Regions from separate parts of the Homo sapiens genome. Here region 2 is linked to region 1. The links are contacts of gene promoters, found by promoter capture Hi-C in blood cells and fetal thymus (Javierre and others, 2016). All regions are on one chromosome and are shown on one strand. The core of a region is centred on a gene start or on the middle of the fragment in contact, and the rest is flanking DNA. Distances in the headings are between cores, read along the strand shown. Region 1 holds the start of ANKRD12 (ankyrin repeat domain 12). Region 2 overlaps TWSG1 (twisted gastrulation BMP signaling modulator 1).

What was found. Contacts are between HindIII fragments. The CHiCAGO score rates a contact against its expected background, and 5 or more counts as called.
Region 2: a fragment that was not itself captured here is called in contact with the fragment with the promoter of ANKRD12 in region 1 in 2 of 17 cell types (megakaryocytes and M2 macrophages); the score reaches 5.0 in megakaryocytes.

The regions. Positions count from the first base shown.
Region 1 is chr18:9,134,359-9,138,787 of GRCh38, forward strand. ANKRD12 (ankyrin repeat domain 12) reads left to right here and starts at 2,423. Exons shown (of 13, transcript NM_015208.5): 1 at 2,423-2,607. NDUFV2-AS1 (NDUFV2 antisense RNA 1) reads right to left here and starts at 2,362. Exons shown (of 3, transcript NR_110772.1): 1 at 2,006-2,362. RefSeq lists silencers at 1,525-1,698, 1,701-1,790, 2,141-2,490, 2,701-3,100, 3,141-3,190 and enhancers at 1,981-2,030, 2,521-2,570. The HindIII fragment of the contact is 1,483 bases long and covers 2,041-3,523 here.
Region 2 is chr18:9,352,423-9,356,851 of GRCh38, forward strand. All of the region lies in intron 2 of TWSG1 (twisted gastrulation BMP signaling modulator 1), which reads left to right. Among named protein-coding and RNA genes, the nearest start is that of TWSG1, 20 kb to the left of the region's middle. The HindIII fragment of the contact is 2,678 bases long and covers 1,020-3,697 here.

The DNA of each region.
Region 1 (4,429 bases), core at 1,173-3,672:
CTCTGTGTACATCCTCATGCTAACCGTAGCAACTTGCAGCTCTAAGTATTATGTCATAATGACAGAGGACCATTTTAAAGTCTTCTATCTATGGCTGTGAAGACATCATTATATAATCTAGTTAACAGTTACTCTAGTGTCACCCATTTTCAATTTCCAGATCGCTTTTATCAAGATCAGGTTACTGTGAAGTAAAAATTTGGTTAAATTACAAATGTTTTGCTTTCCCATCTTTAGCCACAGCCAAGTTTTAAGTTAACATGATCTTTCTATAAACTTTGTCAGTGCTCCCTTTAAACATTATTTAAAACACATAATTGTTACTGTATTTCCAACTGGTAAGACCTCAAGCACACTGTAGGTTTAAGGAGGATATGGTAGTTGTCTCTAGAAGCCTTTTTTTTTTTTTTTTTTTTTTTGAGACGGAGTCTCGCTGTCTCCCAAGCTGGAGTGCAGTGGTGGGATCTCGGCTCACTGCAAGCATTACAGGCGTGAGCCACCACGCCCGGCTTAAGCATTACCATTTTTAAAAAAGAAAGGTCCAAAACACTTGACATTATCCTTAGCTATTCTGACACTGCAAGTATACAAAAAATAATTGGGTGAAGGGATTGGAAGTATGATTATGTACTCTGCAGTGGTATGGATATTACAACTTAGAAAAAAGGATAAACCCTTTTGTGTATTTAAGAAATTAGCTGTAGTACATTAGTTTTGCATTAGCCAGCTTTAATGCATGAATAATTTATATTAATCTAATCCTCGATTTCTCAAAGTCACCTGTACTTGAAACAGACTATTCACTAGTAATTATGCTTTTTTTTTTTGAGACAGGCTGTGTCCCCAGGCTGGAGTGCAGTGGTGTGATCTTGGTTCACTGCAATACCCTGGCCTCAGCCTCCTGAGCAGCTGGGAGCACAGGCAGGCGCCACCAGCCTGGTTAATTTTCATATATTTTTTTAGAGACAGGGTCTTACTATGTTGCCTGGCTGGTCTCAAACTCCTGGGCTCAAGCCATCTGCCCGCCTGAGCCTCCCAAATTGCTGGGATTACAGGCGTGAGCCACTGCGCTCGGCTATAACGATTATTTTTAAGTATGTCTTTAAGATTTTTTTTTTAATTGAGAGAAGGTAAACAACAGTTAATTTTCCAAGTGGCACAAAAAAGTAACAATGAAAATGTCCTACCCTGGAGCTCTCCTGACTTTCTCATAGGCGACTGTTTTTTTCTTTGTATTTCACATCATAAATAACCAAGTTAAATGTAACACTATTCCACCTCTAGCCATAAGGTGCTCTTTTTCTAGTCTTGTTGACCCTAAAGATTTGTAGGTGGGAGAAATCAGGAACCCAGGAAAGGAAAAACTCCTGATCTTTAATGCAGGTTTATGCTTTACATAGTAATTTGATGGGACCTCGCCGTCCCTGTCAGGTCTGAATGTCACTTCATCTGCTGTGATCACACCTGAACCCTCAGTTCATCAAGACGTTAAAGGACAGTGTAACATAAACTTGTAACTGCATGCACTAAGTCATAAACAGACGCTGTTGTTGCAGATTAACCTCTACGTAAATAACGCGCCCAGAAGGGAGTGAGTACACGCTGCTGCCACGCTGCGACGGTCAATTTTCCTCCGGCACCCTTCCTAGTACCTGAGCAGCTCCCTCTCAAATCCCCAACACTACGTGTGGGAGGGTGCACTGAATTCCTCTTTAAAAAGGCCACTGGAAGGCGTGGCTGGGAGGGGACGCGCTCTAGACCCCCTGGTGCCAGGGCAGGTGCACGCTACCGCGCTTTCGGGGCGGGGCCCAGGGCCCCACCTGAGGCGGGGGGCCGCGGGCTCTGGGCGTAGGTGCAGCTTCTCCGGCCTGGTGCGGGGCCAGACGGCCGCCGCCGGCTTAGCGGGGGAACTTCGCCTAGTCCTCGGGCTGCGGTCGCAGCGTCATTTTGCCTGAGTTGGATCACGCTCGTCCACCCACCCCGTGTAAAAATAACAGGTGAATACCCTATGTGGGGGTCCTCATCGCCGCCATTTCCAGAAGCTTCCAGTCACAGCCACTGCCACGGTCGCCACAAATGCTACTGCAGAGCCCGCTTGCCCAGCAGCGTCACCGGCGCCTGCCCTGCCTCTTCGCCCAGCCTTTGATTCCCCCTCCTTTGTCGGATAGTGTCTGCGGCGGGGAGGCGGTGACACTAGTCCGAGTGGGGCGTGGAGACCGACCAGCACGAAGGGCGGAGTTCCGGCCCGCACCCCTCCGCCGCCTGCCGCTTGGTACGTCCCGCTTCCCCGCCCTGCGGCTCGCGGAGCCTGGCTGAGCAGCAGGAGGGGCGGGCGCCGGGGGGCGGGGCGGTCACGCCGCCCGTCCCGTGCCCGCGGTAGTCACGTGTCCGCGGGTGTCACGTGCTCGCGTCGCAGCCAATCGCGGGGCGACGCTGTCCTGGGAGCGAGGAGGCTGTGGTGAGAGACGGACCGAGACCGGAGATGTTTTCAAGCCCGGCTCCGGCGGCTTTACAGGCGGCTGCAGCGGCGACGAAGACAACGACAGCGACGGCTACGCCGAAGCACTCGTTCCGGGGGTGAAGCCTCCTGCGCCGGCCTTGCCTCGGGTCCGTACGGGTGAGGGGGGCGTGGCGACAGGAAAGGAGGAAGGAGGGGCGCGGTTTCGAGCTTGTCCCCGGCGCCAGGGAGGAGATCCCCTCAGTTCTGCGCTGCTCCCGTTCCCCCTCCCCAGAGCAAGGTAGGGGACGCGCCCTGCCCGCCCCCCCCGGTCCCGACGCGCCGCCCGCCCAGCCTGGCCCGAGCCGTAGCTCGCCTGACAGTGACAGGCCGTTAGTGCCCCCCGGCGCGGGTCCGCCGGGGCCCCGCCCGCCGCCGCCCCTCCCGGCGTCGCGAGGAGCCGCGGCGCAGGTGGGAGCCGCCAACTGGGCGGGGGCGCTGCGCGGGGCGGGGCGGGGGCCGGGCGGAGGGCCGCGAGCTGGCCTCGTCGCGGGCGCCCCTCACCGCGGCTGGCGGGGCTGGGCTGCCGCCGCCTCCCGGAACATGGCGGGGCCGGAGGAGCGTGTGCGTGCGAGTGTGAGTGTGCGCGGCCGAGAGGGCGCCGCTGGCGTGCGGCGGTCGGACCCGCGGGGGCGGGGGCGCGCCCGGCCCGCCGCGCGTTCCCGCCGCCAGCCGCCGAGCGTGCGCCGACGCCGGGGAGTCTGCCGCGGCCGCTCGGGCCGGGAGCGTCGGAGGTACCCGGGTCCTGGGAGAGGTGGATGAAATCAAGAAGGGGAAATTGCTGCTTTAGTAGTGTCCGGGGAAAGAGCAGCCACTCTACAGTTCTGTCTTAAATGCCAGTGTAAAATAACCTTGCCGCATTGGACAGGCAGTTCCCGTCATCGTTTTTCAAGTACCCACTTGTGATGCTTCAAGACCCCTGGAGCACGTCAGGTTCTTAGATCTCGTTTTGAGGAGTGATGTGGAGTGACGCATCCTTACAGATCCCAAAGCGTTGAATAAACGGTTGTACAAAGAGGTATGCGAAGCTTAGCTGACAGCTGTTTTAGTAATAACAGTAAGACGCTGTCTGGGATAGGAAGTTACTGTTGCACTCGTTGAAACCTTAGGAAACATTTAAAGCAGTGTAGTCACCGGGATTGTAATTTCCACTGGACACCCGTGGTTAAACTGCGAACTAAGGTGAAGTGTGTTGCAGATCCAGTGCTGTGTATGTAATGGTTCGGAATTACCTCTAATCCTAAAGTTGAAATGAGCCTGCATCTGCAGTCATGTATTTCGTTTTCATTTTAGAATGGTTTATGTAAATTATAAAGAAAGGCTAGTGAAATAGCTATTTTATCGTAAATTAACTGTGTATTAAAAACATATGCACAGCCGGGCGCGGTGGCTCATGCCTATAATCCCAGCACTTTGGGAGGCCGACGTGGGTAGATCACCTGAGGTCAGGAGTTCGAGACCAGCCTGACCAATATAGTGAAACCCCCGTCTCTACTAAATATACAAAATTAGCCAGGCGTGGTGGCGCATGTCTGTAATCCCAGCTACTTGGGAAGCCGAGGCAGGGGAATCGCTTGAACCCGGGCGGCAGAGGTTGCAGTGAGCCGAGATCGTGCCACTGCACTCCAGCCTGGGCCACAAGAGCGAAACTCCGTCGCAAAAACATACCAAAACAAACAAACAAACAAACAAAAAAACATATGCTCAAGTAGGCCGTTAAAAATCTTGGGCACTGATCTGAGTTTCTTTAATCGTTATACAAAGCCTTTCCTGGAGATTAGCTCAGAACTGGCAGAACATATGCTCTATTGGTGCCAAGTGGCTTAAAAGCAAAATGAGGATAGTGTCCACCGTGTAAGATGAAGTCGTTATATTAACAGTCTTGTTGAGAAAAATCTTTAATTTGGGTTAAAAGCAGGAGCCTTTAAAAAT
Region 2 (4,429 bases), core at 1,109-3,608, 220 kb after region 1:
AATTTTTCTTGAGTAAATACCTAGGAATGGGATTGCTGGGTCACCGGAGCATTTTGATATTCGTTATCTCATTGGGATGCCCAAGTTTGTAAGGGAAAATCCAGGAACACCATTCCTTTTTTATGACTGGGAAACCGAGACTCAGGGTTGCAAACAGCTTATGGGCTTAAAACCAGATCTTGTAAGTCCAAGTCATTTGCTATCTTTACTAGAATATAATGTTGTTTTCAATGACGTTTCCTTGTTTTATTATAGCAACAGGGTTAACAAATCTCTCAGATCTTTGCAACAAGAATGGAAATATTTATCAGTAACTGAGAGTCAATATTAATAAGATTCTTCCTCAAGTTGTTAGTTTCCATTTCTGGCCTAGAAATTTGGGAGTTCATACAATAAATGTTAACTCTTAAAGTCTAATCTTAATCTTGGATAAATATACTCCCCCTCAATTTATTTTGCATAAATAATTAATATCTGACCAGAGCATCAGTTGTATAGTCATGGCACTGTGTAACAACATTTTGGTCAATGGCAGACAACATATATGATGGTGGTCACATAAGATTATAATACTGTATTTTTATTGTACCTTTTCTATGTTTAGATATGTGTAGACATGCAAATATTTACCATTGTGTTATAATTGCTTACAGTATTCAGAACAGTAACATGCTGTACAGGTTTGTAGCCTAGGAACAATAGGCCATACCATATAGCCTAGGGTTATAGCAGGCTCTACCATGTAGGTTTGTATAAGTATATACTGATATTCATATAACAACAGAATTGCCTAAGGATGCATTTTTCAGAATGTATCCCTATCCTTAAGCGATAAAGCGTGACTGTATATGGAATAAGATTCTTCTCTAAAGATGATCGAATCTGTCTTCTGGCATCTAAAAATTTGAAATTCTCTGTCATATTGAAGGTTTTCCTTAATATAAATGTAGTAAAATACATTTTGAATGATTAGATTTTTCCCTCAAACTTTTCATCCTGCCAGACTTTCATTTCATATAAGCTTTGAAAACAGTTTGCCAAATTCTCTCTAAATACTCATACTGGTCAATAGAGAGTAGCTCAAATGTATAAATTTCAGTTTACCATTTAGTGTAAAGTTTTAATTTTTTTCCATCATAAAATTATTGAACAACGTGTCTACCAAACTTTAAGAACATCTAGCATAGTTATTTACACATAGAAGATGTCTTATTCCATATTACCTTGCCTCTAACATGCAAGAGCAGTGGTGGTAGAAAAAGCCTTGAGTCAGAAGACCTTGTTTCAAAGCCGCAGTTGTGTGAACTCACAGAAATCATGAAACCACTCATTCTCAGCCTTCTCTTCTCCACATGAGGAACAACCACACTTTCTCTGTGACTTGCAGACTAGGGAAGCAGAAGATATAGTCATTAACCAGCTGAAGCGACAACAAAAAAAATTAAGTATTGCATTCCAAGTCACTGGTTTTGCAACTCTTAGCCAATGAGTCCAATTTTACCTTTACAAACAATGATTAAACTTGGGCAATAGCATTTCTAGTTGTATTCAGGTACTGAGAGTGAAAGATATAATAATGCCTTTGATTAAACAATCTAAAGAATTATCTAAGTTTAATTATAGGCTTATTCTTTCTAAGAGAGTAATAACTGTAATTATTAAAATGTTAATTTAATGAAAAATAACTTTTATATTTCTCATTTTAATGTTTACAAAACAGGAATACCTAACCATAACTGGGGTCAAATTCTAGCCACTAATTGAATGAAGTTGTATAAATTTCATGACTTCACTTAAAAAATAAGGATAATAACGACATGAATCTTTATGAGATTCAAGACAATGCATATAAAATACTTAGCACAGTGCCTATAAGGGTTAAATAGAACCCATTTAAGGACTTTGGGGGAGGTGGTAGCAGTAAATAATTGGAAGCATTGAGTCAGTCTTTATTTTGGACTTCAGGGAACTTGGTGTTTAGTTTTGATCACATGTTCCATTCAACTGAGCAGAACCCAAATTTAGTCATAGTGAGGTTAGTAAAATATATAAATAACCCAGTCCAAAGAGAAGATTCTAAATTTCAACTCTACCGTATTTTCTGTTTAAGGAGTGGAGACTTTGAAATAATAGTAAAATAGAAACTGATGAAGTTTATGAAGGTGATAAAAAATGAGAAAGTGGACAAGGTGTGGAAAGGATTAAGAATTTAATCACTGTTTCTGAATTTTGGCACATTGATGTACTATTATGCGCTGATTAAATTATGTTGACAGATTTTTTATGATAGAGAAATGCTATTTTTTTAGATCAAGGTAGTATATAATCATTATTTTGTTAGACATGCATAGGAATTTACCAAAGGGGGAGGAATTTAGGGTTCTTTCTTTCTACTCTAGTAGATATTTTCCAAAGTCTTATATAATTAAAGAAATACTTTTAAAATTTTGGTAAAACCTTTCTTTTTATCTTGACTTTAGCCTTTCTGGTTATAGAAGACATGTGTTCTTATAAGTGAAACAGCTAGGGGTAAAGTTTTCTTTTTTTTTTTGAGACAGAGTCTCGCTCTGTTGTCCAGGCTGGAGTGCAGTGGCCCCATCTCGGCTCACTGCATACTCCGCCTCCCAGGTTAACGCCATTCTCCTGCCTCAGCCTCCTGAGTAGCTGGGACTACAGGCACCCGCCACCATGCCCAGCTAATTTTTTGTATTTTTTGGTAGAGACGGGGTTTCACCATGTTAGCCGGGATGGTCTCGATCTCCTGACCTTGTGATCCGCCTGCCTTGGCCTCCCAAAGTGCTGGGATTACAGGCGTGAGCCACCACACCCGGCCTAAAGTTTTCTTTTTAAGTGTTCTGAAGAACAGATTCTGCTTGATTTAAATGGGGCAGTTTTTATGTTTTTCTGTAATCCTTGTTTCATCACAGAGAGTTGTTCTGAGTTGTTTTTTCTTTTCTATTTTCAATACTTGAGTTCAAAGCACTTTACAAATGTTATTATATTTAGAAACATTCATCCTAACCGCAGCTTGCTTGCTGTTAAAAATATTATACATTTCTAAATATGTTCACAACCAAACATTATTCAATAATGTGATTTTTAAGGGCATGTAGAATGAATAGAAAAGAATGAATTACTTGATGAGCTTCATAAAACTGCTATTTATAATTATTTGCATGTGGAAATTCATTGTTTCAGTTTGTTTCTTGACTTAAAAACAGTAGTCATAGAGTAGACATATTTTTGCTCTCCTGATTTGCAGTAAGATTTTAAATGCCATCTATTAAATTTGCCTATTATATTTCTCCTGAAAAGTAAGAGGTGTGTTTTTGAAAATGGAAAAGGCACAGATGCTGTTTTCAGGCACAAACTCTGTTTTCAAAAGGTCGGTTTGAAGAGCTTGTTTTTCTTATTTGCCCATCTCCTAAAAAGAATGCTGACGTGAGTTATGAAGAATAGAGAGTATTTGATGTATGTGGAGGCTCATTTACCCAAATTATGAACATTTCTTAATTTATGGTGATTAAATTTCTGCTTTATTAAGACAATGGTTTTTTAGTCTTTTCTGTAGTAATGTAGAAAGAAAGAAAAATATTAGCCAGGATATTGTTGTTTGGTGTCCAACAAGTTTTAATAGTAGTTTTTACCATTAAAGTCTTAAACTGGATTTTTGTCTCTTTAATTGTACAGTAATGAAAGCTTATCTCTGTCGTTTCCCTCTTGTTTCTCCTTACCATAGCTTTTAACGTTGTATTCTATCACTAAATTATAAAGCAGTAAGCATATGACTACAGCATATTACTCTCTTACACCAGTATGTAAAAGTGCAGGACAGGCATCTATTAAGAGGGTGTGAAATACATTTAATCTTCAGAGCTAGATAACCTGGGCAAGTTCAAGCGACTTTTAAATAGGCCGTTAGTTTTAACTTTCTGTTTGTTCGCAGTAATCTCATTCTCACCCACCTTTTCATTCTAGTTTAAAACACTTCACAAATACCTGACAGTAAAAGGCATAATGAATGCTTCACAGACTCAGATTTCTCTAATGGGAACTATTAAATTGACATTCATTTAAAAAAATTATTTGGCATAATATACAGTAATTCATTTAGCAAGCTACCATTTGGAAGCTGCAGAAAAAGGAGAGACTATATTCTTTGAATAGATTTGTTACTTTTCTAATTTGTTTCTCCTTAGTTTAGTTAATAATATAAATACAGGTTGAACATTTCAAATCCAAAAATCTGAAATCCAGAATGCTCCAAAATCGGAAACTTTCTGAGCATTGACATGACATCAAAGGAAATGCTCATTGAAAGAGTTTAGATTTTTGGATACAGGATGCTCAACTGGTATAATGCAAATATTACAAAATCCAAATAAACTCAAAAATCCAAAACACTTTTGGTACCCAGCATTTCAGATAA